Linked DNA regions of Homo sapiens: all the other regions are linked to region 2. The links are contacts of gene promoters, found by promoter capture Hi-C in human tissues and cell types (Jung and others, 2019). All regions are on one chromosome and are shown on one strand. The core of a region is centred on a gene start or on the middle of the fragment in contact, and the rest is flanking DNA. Distances in the headings are between cores, read along the strand shown.

Evidence for each region. The method cuts DNA at HindIII sites, captures the fragments that hold promoters and counts their contacts. A contact is called where the count stands out against the background at its distance.
Region 1: a fragment that was not itself captured here is called in contact with the fragment with the promoter of TMEM200C in region 2 in 2 of the 25 tissues and cell types used here (H1 embryonic stem cells and small bowel).
Region 3: a fragment that was not itself captured here is called in contact with the fragment with the promoter of TMEM200C in region 2 in 1 of the 25 tissues and cell types used here (hippocampus).
Region 4: a fragment that was not itself captured here is called in contact with the fragment with the promoter of TMEM200C in region 2 in 5 of the 25 tissues and cell types used here (H1 embryonic stem cells, IMR-90 fibroblasts, dorsolateral prefrontal cortex and 2 more).

What each region holds. Positions count from the first base shown.
Region 1 is chr18:6,156,721-6,159,967 of GRCh38, forward strand. All of the region lies in intron 13 of L3MBTL4 (L3MBTL histone methyl-lysine binding protein 4), which reads right to left. Among named protein-coding and RNA genes, the nearest start is that of L3MBTL4-AS1, 98 kb to the right of the region's middle. The HindIII fragment of the contact is 6,349 bases long and covers 1-3,247 here.
Region 2 is chr18:5,894,063-5,896,911 of GRCh38, forward strand. TMEM200C (transmembrane protein 200C) reads right to left here and starts at 1,460. Exons shown (of 2, transcript NM_001395400.1): 1 at 968-1,460. All of the region lies in intron 9 of MIR3976HG (MIR3976 host gene), which reads left to right. LOC121725015 (a long non-coding RNA gene) reads left to right here and starts at 1,665. Exons shown (of 3, transcript NR_172505.1): 1 at 1,665-2,024. The HindIII fragment of the contact is 12,914 bases long and covers 1-2,849 here.
Region 3 is chr18:6,374,498-6,377,412 of GRCh38, forward strand. All of the region lies in intron 1 of L3MBTL4 (L3MBTL histone methyl-lysine binding protein 4), which reads right to left. Among named protein-coding and RNA genes, the nearest start is that of MIR4317, 1.5 kb to the left of the region's middle. The HindIII fragment of the contact is 4,980 bases long and covers 1-2,915 here.
Region 4 is chr18:6,177,268-6,180,134 of GRCh38, forward strand. The region is part of intron 12 of L3MBTL4 (L3MBTL histone methyl-lysine binding protein 4); the gene reads right to left. Among named protein-coding and RNA genes, the nearest start is that of L3MBTL4-AS1, 78 kb to the right of the region's middle. The HindIII fragment of the contact is 4,893 bases long and covers 1-2,867 here.

The sequences.
Region 1 (3,247 bases), core at 748-3,247, 260 kb after region 2:
AGTTGTTTCATCCATTTTAGAAGGGACGGGCTATTGTACCTATTTTAAAGGTCTGTAAATTCGCACAGAGCTGTGCTTTATTTAATACAATCTATGATGGTCTGTACATGTGATGACAGAAACTGCTATGCCACACTGCATCGCAACTGTGAACAAAGTCTTCAAGCTAGAATGAGAAAATAATCTGCAGAATTGTTCTGAGCTAGCCACTAGGCATCCAACAACTAAGTTATAGAATCAAGTAAATGGATTCTGCCCTCACACCTCCAGAAGGTAGAGACGCAGGATAAGCACTTCAACAAGGAACATTTAAAACAGACAATATCATTATGACTGTAAGTACATTTTGAAACGTATTATTTTTTTCTCGATAAGTCTATCATGTAGATCTGTAATTAGGGACTTTGAAAATAGCTACCTTTTTAAAAAACACAATATGCTGTAATTGTCTATTAAGTCAATGAGTACTTAGGGACTCTTAAAACTGCTGATTACTTGCTTGCTGTAATTTGGAAGAACAAGTACTAAAGATTCCTTGTGAAATTCTCTTTAAAACAGAATGAAATTGAAAATGTGCTATTACCTGGTTAGGCTAACAATATTTTTTCCTCGGAATGACATCCATCCATCATCATATTAATTGCTTCACATCTGGCCAAAAAATTGCATTAACTTTTATTTTATAATCTAAGTGAATTTCCATCTCTGAATAAAATTTTTCTAATTCCACAGAGTTTCAATGCTCATAAAAGATGGCATTATTAATCATTCATTGCTTAGTGTAGATTAAGAATTTTATCTCACTCATCAGGATAAACAATGTACCAGCCATATGGTGTATTTACAAGTCATTCTGTTGTATTTATATACGTGCAGTATATTAAATGAAATTGGATAAAAATGAACTATACCTTTTATCAAGTTATGTGCTATTATGCCTGTTTATGTTTAACTGTTAAATAAATTAGCAATGTTCTCAAAGTCATTAATATAAATTACAAAGGATATATATATTTTAGTTTGTATTATTACTCTATTAATATACACTTTAACTTCATAATGATAATTTAATTTACTTTGTAATCAAGCATTATAATTACTTCCAAATAAAAATCAAACAGAAGCTAAAGAAAGAACAATGACACAATTATTTAGACATGGAAGCTAGCTAAGAAATCTCATTTTTCTGCCTATCAACTTCCTATTTAGGAAAGTTTCCTTGGTCACTTAGGGAGGGTTATTCTTGGCCTGTGTCTCTCCTACTAGGCTTGACTAGACCAATTCCATAGCTACTACTCAAGAACTCACTCACTCCATTAAGGTGGCAGGCGAGAGCCCAAGGTGGCCTCTACAGATGCATGTTGGTTTTGCATTATGTGACTAACCAACACATTATAGAGAGAAGAATATATAGACAAATGTTTTTTGGAAGTCAGACCATGGAAAAACACTAAGAGATACCACCGTCCTTCCATTCATGAAGCTTATGGTTTCATAAGAACTAATGACAACTGAGATGATTACATATTGTATTTTGCACTGCGGAGATAAGGAAGTGGTCAAATGAAAAATAATAGTGATTGCTATTCTTTAGATAATATGGCCCATGGAGGCCTTTCTAAGAAGGGACCATTCAAGATGTATTCTAAAGGGTGAGAAAGAGCCATCTGGTAGAAGAGCAGATAGACCATTCTGAACAGAGAAGACAGCATATATATACAAAGGCCTTAGGGTGGAAAGAGTTTGTGTTCACCAATTGAGAGAAAGGAATAAGCGTAGTGAATGAGAGGCTTAAGGAAGACAAGGAGGCAAGAGGTGTGTATGTGCACACTCCTCTCTTCTGTTTTCATTTACTCCCCCTCTGTTTTCATTTACCCTTCCTTCATGCTGGCATTGGAGTGGGCATCTATTTATAAATAGGAGGTCTTAAAACAAGGCTGTGGCAATACTAAGGGACAGCTGTACATCTGTAGAAAGAGATCCCACATGGCTACTTACACATGGTAGAAGGTCAGTGGCCAAGTTAATGAGCCCAAGGCTGTACTTCCATTTCAGCACAGCCTGTGTGGTACATGGAGGGGACCCAGAAGTTCTTACGTGCCTCAGTAAGGAAGCACGGGGTCTCTAAAAGGGCTGGTAGGTGAGCAGAAATCTGGTGTCAAGATATAAAAGCCACATACAGAGTGGCTTGGGGATTAGAGCAAACAGCTCTTCCTCCTTGGAGGAAGGATCTTGAGCAAGACCCATCAGGGATGTCTCTTTATGAAAAGGTAAGGCTCCATCTTCCTGGGAAGAGTGTGCCCTGTGAGCTGCTGATGATCAGGAATGATGTGAAGTCACTGCAGGCGACCCAGGTATGAGGCTATGCTGCAATGTCATCTATTTTTGGGCTTTGCTGCCCTCTTCCCCTCATGCCTCATGCAGCATTGCTGATGCTGCAAAACAGAGGATACCATCCCTTGCTGGAAACCCAACCTCAGCACTTCCATAGGCCTCGCCCCAGGTTGGGACCTCTCACTGGCTGGGTTACCCACTTTTCTGTTCAGAGACGGGATAACCAGAGGGCAACACATCTGATTATAAAAGTGCATATTGCAGGGTTTAGGCAAGTAAGAATACATTCTGACCAGGACCAGAGACCCCACTCTGGCTCTAACAAGCTGTGTGAATCATTGAGTTGCCTCACCTCTGGATGAGAGGTTTGGATCTGATAAGTCCTAGGATTCCATCAGTTTCATATTCCACACCCCTATCTTTGGTGACTAGGATAAGAGAAGATGAATCGAAACACCTCTCCTGCATCTATTTATATCTATACCCAAGCTGAGCGAGCAGCTTTGTTCTTCTTAAGTTGGAGATGCAAAGTGTTCCCATCATAAACAAGAGCCCAGCTTAATCTGACGCGATGGTCCCTGCACGGGAGGCTCCAGGGCATGCCACATGGCTCTCCCTGAAGGGCCAGCACCACCAGGCCACTCCATACCCCACCAGCCCTTGTCGCGGCACCTCAGTTTTTTGTCATTTCATAACAAACACTTTATATATACCCTGGTGAGAAAAGTCTGTTAGTTACTAAGTGGTGCAGCCAAATCTGCATTTAATTAAAAAATGAATATTTTGTCTCAAGCTATATCTATCTTATTAGAAGCACTGGGACATGTCACATTTTTATTTTGTTGTTTTTATTCCTACTTTAAAACATTTAAAAGCATTTCTACATAATCAAATATTTTATTCTGCATTGTTT
Region 2 (2,849 bases), core at 210-2,709:
TAAGGACCAGACATTTTTTAGAAGCGAACTCAGACTCAGTTGGCAGGGTGGCTCTCCCACCGCAGAAAGGCTACATGTTTTGTTGGGCATTGATCAGGTGCGCCGGGAGGCTGGATGCCTTGGGGGAGGAGGAAACCCACTTGGATTTCTCCTCAGCAAGGCAGCTTTGGCTCCGGTAGAATGTAAGGAAGGTTGGAATGGATTTCAACAGTCCTTTACCGCACATCTTTAAAATGAGTTTAATAGCTAGTAATTAACTCCCTCGTTTATTATTCCTTCAGCTCTGTTGAAGGCTGTACTCCCTTTTAATGTATCATCATCTGACACGAAATACAGACAAAGGTCAGATGCCACGGGAGACCCACCTTTGAGGTTTTCCTTTATACCTAATGAAAGAAAACAAACTTAGCAGTCAAGCTTGGCTGCCCTCGCAATTTACTGCCTGGAGCTGGTCTTACCGTGGTTAAAGAATGGAGGATGGGGGAAGCAAAGGAGGGATGTCTAAAAATACAACTGCTTCCAAGAGAGACATTCAAGTTCTCCGCTCAAGATGGATTAAGCCCCACTCTGAGGCTCGGAGGCTCGGATCCCACAGGCTGGGAGCGCTGTGCTGTGCCCGGTACCCAACCCAGGTCCTCGACCCCGGCCCCTCACTGGCAGGGCGGCGACCCCCTGGCCCCTGGCTTTGGTCTGCTTATTGATGTTAGCTGGAGTCACATGAGTGCAGCAGCTGGGAGTCCGCCTCTGGAAAGAAGACAGGCAGGAGCCAAGTGAGGGCAATCCTGAACTAGCTTTTTCTGGGCAGCGCATCCCGTGTAGCCAGCCCGGGAAAAAGCCTCTCACCGAACACCAGCCCGGGGCGCGGGGACTCGGGGACCCGAGGGGCGGGGAGGGGCCCCCAAGGGCTGGGGACTGGCAGAATTGCTCAAAATGGCAGCACTCTCCGCACGCAAGATCGCTCACTTACCCAGGGAGACCGAGGGAGGTCGGGGCCGGCGAACGGGCGCTCGGGCGACACAAAGGAACCATGGAGAAACTTTTTCAGCCCGAGCCGACGGCGGAGCGCAGGGACAGCGCCCCGGGGCCCCGCATCCGAGCGCGACTCAGCAGCCCCGCGGGGGCGAGCGCCCGCCCCAGGCTCGCAGTCCCCGCCGGCGCTGTGGCGGGAGCCATTTCCAAGAGTTTCCAAGAAGTGTCAGGTCCTCCGCATCCCGCATCCCGCATCCCGCCTCGGAGCCCTCCTCTCCGCCGCTCATCCTCCAGCTCCCGGCGTCCCCTAGCGCGGCGCTCCCGGGCGGGCCCCTGCGGCCGCGCCGCCGGCCCTCGCGCCTCTTTTGTGTGGCTGCGGCGCGCCGGGCTCCGCCGGGTGGAGTTGAGCCCGCGGCGGCGGCTCGGGGCGGCCGGACTGGCGGCTGTTGCTAAGAGACCGGAGCCATGACACAGGGAAATTGCGGCAGGGTGGCGGTCGGGGCCCGCCCGGCTCGGCGGAGTCGGGGGGCGCCCCCGCCCCCGCCCCCCGCCCCACCCCCTCCTCCGGCGCCCCCCCCCACGCCGCCGGCCTTCCCCGCTCCCCCGCGTCCTCCGCCGCCCGCCGCCCGTCCCTTCGGAAGCGCCGATTCCTCGGGGAGGAGGAGGCGTGAGGGGAGGCGGCGGAGGCAGCCGGCACGGGGCGCTCGGGCCGCGGGGCAGGGGGCGCGGGGTGCCTCCTCGGCCTCGGCTCTCCCCGCCCCGGGGCGCCCCGAGACCGCCGCCTGCCTCCGCGGGCAGCTTTGTTCTTCTTTCCTCCAACTACCTGTCTGAGCCGCGGGCCCCAGAGGCCCCAAAGAGAGGCCCGGAGGGTCTCCCCAGCAGCATCCGAGGGGCGCTCTCGGGGAGCTAGGGGCCAGAGTCCGCGGTCCCTCCGTGCCTGCCTCCCTCCCCTCGTGCCTCGGTCTTTTGTTGCCTCTACTCCTCGGCACGGCGCAGCCTGGGCTCTCTTCCCCCTCCCGCTTGGGAGTTTGCAGTGTGGACGCTCGGCAAGCACAGTAAGTTGTCCCCCAGCGAACTCGGGCCCGGGCGGAGTGGAGCCGCCCCCGCCGGGACGGGCGCACCGCGGGACGCTTGGAAGCCTCTGCCAGATGCGCTCGCGCTCCAGCCCCGCCGGGCTTTGTGACCAGCCTGACCGGGACCCGGCAGCTGGGGCTCCTCGGAGATCAGAATGGGCTCCGGGGCTCTTCCTTGGGCAGCCCCTCCTGCTCCTCCCCGGTGCGGTAATCAGCAAGCATTAAAAGGAAAACTATAATTCTCCAGGAATCAGGAATCAGGGTTGGAATCAGAGAGGGGAGGTGGGGGTAGGGAGGATGTCCAAACTCCCTACGTCATTTAAAAAAGAGAGAAGGCGAGAGAGAGAGAGAAAGAGATCGAGATCCTGTTTCCTAGTTCATCCCTGTCTTCTCAACTGTAAAGTAAAAATGACAGGGAAAAGAGAATTTCAAAGTGGAATTTCCCCAAAGAGTATTGAGAAAGTGAGAAAGATTTCATTTATCTATTGAAATGAGGCAGCCAGGATTCAGGAAGAAAGGAACAGAAGAGCAGATGAAGCAAGTGCTGTCTGAAATTTTGGATCCAGATAAATATTTTGGTGGTGGTGGGTGTTATATATTCTGAGTTTTGCTGCTTAGGGGTCCACAAAACCCACACAGGAGGGCTCTGCTGCCCGCAGCTCCTGTTACAAGATTGTTCCCCACATACACAGCATTCACTTGTGCTTAAATCTAGAGCAGACACTTTTCAAAAAGAACAATAAAGACAACCAATTTACAAGTTCAATGATATAAATGTGAACAGTGATCTAAGAGATGGGGATAGAG
Region 3 (2,915 bases), core at 120-2,619, 480 kb after region 2:
GAAGTGAGTGTCAACAAATATTCGTGGGACAGATGGATACAAAAAGCTGTACAAATAAAGAAGCAAATGACCTCTTCCATGATTACAGTCAAAATTCCAAAGGGCTTCATTAAAGTCAAATCACCAGAATGGTAAACTGGAGCCTGCGTGCTGTTCTCACCACTAAGTGGTACTTCCTGCCCTTCCACAGTGAGTCCTGGTCCCAGTGAAAACACGATAGAACCAGTCACGCCCCGCCTCTCCTCATCGTAAGAAAGCTGCCCACTGAGACCATCCCACACTCGCCACCACCATTTCCCTCAACACTGCCACTTCTATTACTGGCAGTTATTGCCAGTACTAAAACATGAGGCAAAATGAAATTTCTAAAGCACCGTGAAATCTATGGAAAAATATTCAGAAGCAAAGCTTTCAATTAATTCAGTATTTAAATGAAATTCATTTCAGACACAATTCGATAAAGCCTTCATATTCTGAAGAAATTCCCAATAGTATGAAAAAATATATAGGTTTCCAAAAAGCTTCTGCTTTGGTGCATTGGGAAACTCGGGCTGCTCTTGCAGTGTAACGCAGTCTGATCTGCAGAATTAATTCAGACGTCCACACAGGAACTGCAAACCCTGACTCACAGGTGCCTTCCACTGGCGGCCACCTAGATCACTGCATCTGCCCCAGTCGATACAGGAACTCCAGTCTTTATACCTTCCAAACTTACTGTCCATATGTGGACCTAAAATGCCTCTACGGCTTGGCTCTCTCTCCCCCATTTATGGCCCCTCCATGGCTCTCCCGCCCTAAGGATAAAGTCCAGGCTGCCACGGCTTCTGAGGCACCTCCTGACCTGGCTCCCCACCTGACCAGCCGACTTCTCTTCCCAGCCAGACTGTGCTACAACCTGACTTTGTGCGCTCTCTTCTCACCTCCTACCTGGAGCCACCTTCCCACCACCTCGCTGCCCCTCAGACCTCCGTGTAAATGTCATTTCCTTGGATGCCTCCTGCAACCACCACCCCGATCCCAGGCTAGGTGAGGGACACTTCCACAGCCAGCGCTTCCCTTAGCATGACACTCAGCACTTTTCATCCTAGTTCCTTTACTTGAGCCCTCCGAGAGGGCTCTTTGTCACTGTATCTCCAGCACCTGGAATAACGTCTGGGGCACAGGAGGTCGTCAATACCAATTTAGTAAATGAGATGACAATGGCTTAACTGCAACAGTCAGGATGAGAAATAGAGAAGAACCCAAAAAGAATGGGGTGGAATCCAATAGGACCTGGTGACAGAACAGACATGGGCAATAATAAAGAAAGAAGGGCCTGGCCTGGATGTCAAATCTCCACTGGGGCAGCAATGTGAGCAGAGCCACTCAACAAGAAATAGGCAAAAGCACAAACTCAGGCGAGGGCACTAGTTTAGGTTTAGACACGCTAAAAACATGAGGTGTCCCAAAACATGTGGCTACAGTGTTGTGGCTAAGAACTCATCCCTGCCCTGCTCAAGTTGCCAGTAGCTTCCCAGCACATTAAGGAAACTCCAAACTCGTCACTGAGTCCTACAAGGCCACATATGGACTGGGTCTAGCCCCTCAAGCTCTCCGACCCCACTGTCTCAGTCTGCTTTCTCCCTGCTCGCCTCACTGGCAACAGTGGCCCTCCCACTGTCCCCAGAGGTGCCCAGCAAAATGCTCCTCAGCACCTGTGCACTCACTGCAGCCCACCTGGAGCACGGCACCCAAATCCTTGCAGGGCTTCCTGCTTCTCTTAATGTAGGTCCCACTTCAAACATCACCTCCTCCTGTCAGTCGTGAAAATTATCCACAGTAGCACCCCCTGACTCGCTGTCACATCAGTCTGTTTTAGTTTAATCACTAAACACTTGATGAAATTACACTGTCTGTTCATTTGTTTTGCATATTTGTTGTCTGTCTATCCTATCTACAGGGTACATAAAGTAAGGCCCCAGCTGCGCACAGTGGCTCATGCCTATAATCCCAGCACTTTGGGAGGTTGAAGTGGGAGGATTGCTTGGGACCAGGAGTTTCAGACCAGCCTGGGCTGGGGAGACCCCATCTGTACAACAACAACAACAAAAATTAGCTGAGTGTGGTGGTGTGTACCTGTAGTCCCAGCTACTCGGGAGGCTGAGATGGGAGGATCACTTGGACATGGGAGGTTGAGGCTGCAGTGAGCCTTGATGGCATCACTGCACTCCAGCCTGGGTGACAGAGTGAGACCTTGTCTCAAAAAACAAACAAAAAACATAGTCAGGGTCCTCAACTACTTTCCTTACTAGCATAGCCTGAGCACTTAGAACAGTGTATGGCCCTTGCTAATAGCTTATCATATCTGTTGAATGAATATCTGAATGGAGGAATGAAGGTAGCAAGATGGGATTTGTCCTCTCCTGCCCTCACACTGAAATCATTGTGTATTTACAAAAGGTGATACACAGTGCCAACTATCTAAGGACATTAGTAACGCTGACTATCACAAATTCCAGAAAGTTCTCTCAACCAAAAGCAAATAAAGCTTTGGAGGAGGGCACGGAGCACAAACAGGAAAAGGGAAAAGAGAGGAAGTGGATTTCTCTGATCCTCACCTGGCCCCCTGTCTCAAGGGTCACAAACCTGGCTGACCACCAGGAGCACTGTGTTGTATTTTGTTTATTTGCTTGGTTACAAATTCATCCATTCACATACTGAGTAACTGACAAACTCATCTCGTTCGAAAGTTAAGACCATATAAATAGGTATAGGTGAAGAAATCTTACCTCCTCTCCTGGCCGTGTCCACTTTTCTTCATACGAGTTTCCTGAGTTGGTTTTTTTAATTATTATTTGTATTATACTTTAAGTTCTAGGGTACATGTGCAGAAAGTGCAGTTTTATTACATAGGTATACACGTGCCATGGTGGTTT
Region 4 (2,867 bases), core at 13-2,512, 280 kb after region 2:
AAACGAATGCTAGTTCAGCAATAAAAAGGGATAAACTGTTTACACATGCATGAACATGGGAACAACAGACTTCATGTTGAGCAATGAGGCAGACACAACAGTGCATGCTGCATGACCCCACTGATAGGAAATCTGACAACAGGCAATAGAAACCAGGTCCATGGTTGTCTGGGAGAAGGATGGGAGCAGGACTGGCTGAGAAGGAGCACAAAGGAAGCTTCTGTGTTGTTGGAAGTGTTCTACATCTCGACTGGGATGGTGGCTATGCAGGATATATTATACATTTTTCAACACTCATCAAAATGCGTGCATGAAATCTGTACATCTTATCATTTGCAAATTACATCTCAATATAGTTACTTTATTTAAAACATTTCTACATTCAGCTGCTGTCACATGTGGCTGCTCTGTCTCCTACTATCTTCTACTGATGGCGATGTTGCAGTGCTCAAGACATAGCCAGGCACCCTAGGACTGTCAGTACCAGGCCACTGAATATTCAAGGTGTGAACAGGCAACACTGGTGTTCCTTTTTGGAATGATGCCTCCTGCTCTGGAATTACCAATAGGAAGAAGTTTGTGTAAGTCCATATAATGGAGTGAAGAAGAAATAAATTTCCCAAGCTTCAACTAATTTCAATGCCCTTCCCCTTTTAAGTCTGGGGTGCAATTTTTTTATGTTTCAAAAGCAAGGAAGTTGTGTCAAAGCACAAACAGGACAGGACAAATACCCCAGCAAGGTCCTGCTTTGAGGAGTTAGGTCTTTCTATTTTAACTATTGTGGTGGACCTGGGAATCCGACTGCAGAATTAGGTCTCAACTGAAGAAGTGAAAAAAAAAATCTTTTTCAATTTTTTTTGACAGCAGGTACAATATTTTTACATACCCTATTCAACATTTTCCTCTTATGTTCATTAATAAATATTAAATTATCATTTCCAGGATTGTCTATAACTGCTTACAATGAAACCATGGAAATTAAAAATAGCCTCCCAATCCAATGATGTGATTCTCCCCTCCCCAACAAGGGCTGTCTAAACTCTGAATTTATAATCAAAATCTGTGCCTATGTAGAATACATCCTTATGAAAGATATTTTCATATCTTTGGATCATATCTTTGGATCTGTGGAATAAAAATCCGATTTAAAAAATTCTAACCAGATGGTCAAGTTAATAGAGGAGACTGGCATTTTAAGTCTATTTACCAAGAGTCCTTTTGTAAAGCAAAGCCTCATTTTGAAAACCAAATCATCTCAACATTATATTTCATACATTTATTATTTTTCACATATCTGGGTTTGCATAAAATAAACATGTAGACCCTTCTTGCTCAAGCTTTGATAAACTAGAAAACAAAGGTCAGATCACTGAATCAACCACTGTCTCAAGTTCTTATCCTTCAACAGACAGGAATGTGTCCTAATGGTATTAACGTTACACATTAGCTATTAAAGAGCGGTAAGAAATAACTTGGAAATTTAAAAGTTAGATCAGCATATTAAAAACAACAACAACAAGGAAAAACTCCTTGGCATAAATCCCACACTTCCAGCCGTCTGCACCAACACAGTCTCTGCTTTTCCTTATCTTTACTTCCCAATGCCCACAGTAGGACTTGCCCTGAGCCCCTTAAATGTACCCCAACGCCTCAGTCATGTTCGCTGCTCCCATGGCACTTAGCCCTGTGTCTCACAGATTTTAAAGGCTCAAAGCCCATTGTCTGAATAAGATGCAAGACAGTAATCACATCTTCTCATTGTTCTTTTGGGCAATTGGAAGACGAGGAAGTTATTATAATACCTAGGAACATTGGGGCTAAATTGAATGCTCAGTCACAATAATTTTATTAGCCTAAGTGACTATTACATTGTTTTATTTTGCTATAAACCTTTTTTAAATTTTTAATTTCCACTTTAATAGGCTTATTGGATACGTTTGTTTTACTGTCAGAGTCCTCAAATCTATTTTACATGCTTATGGCAAACAAATTGTAAGCGCAGACATGATGTTAACTTCTTCAGAAACAGCCTGTATTGTGCCTGAACTCTTCTAGCTTTAATTTAATACATTTTGAGTTAACTAGGCTTAAGTTTCATTCTAGAGAGGAGAACTGGGTTTTAATATGTTTTCCTGATACCTATTGCTCATAACTATTGGTGCTAATAAGATTATAGTTCATCTTACTTCCTGTGATGCCAGGCTCTGGGCTCTGTTGAGGGATGGCAAAGGTGGGTTCAGGGATAGTACTGAGGCAAGACATCTGCCCTGCTGTGGGGCAAGAATGCTTGCACCGTGCCTTTACAGAATACTATCATAATCCAAGAGCAAGAGTGTTGGGTATGGCAGGGGACACACTTTTATTGTACACATATATTCCAGGGATAGTTGTAATGTGTGTGTGTGGACACACATACACAGACATGGCACAGCCACAGCTCACTGCAGCCTCAAACTCCTGGGCTCAAGTGATCCTCCTGCCTCCCAAATAGCTGGAACTACAGGCGCATGCCACCACACCACACCACTCAATTATTTTATTTTGTTTTTTTGTAGAGTCAAGGTCTTGCTATGTTGCTCAGGTTGGTCTCAAACTCCTGTTCTCAAGTGATCCTCCTGCCTCAGCCTCCCAAAGCTCTGGGATTACAGGCATGAGGCACTGAGTGCGGCCCTATATAGCGCCTCATTTAATGTTCACAGTACTATTTTAATAGATGATTAATAGGGGCCTCACAGATGTTAAGAGGTTTGCCAAGATCATAAGCCAGTAAATGGCAAAAACAGACTTAACCTGAGAACAGTTTACTGAGAGAACCATGCAAGAAAATAAATCAGGAAAACAATATAACTGACTAAATGAGGGATATA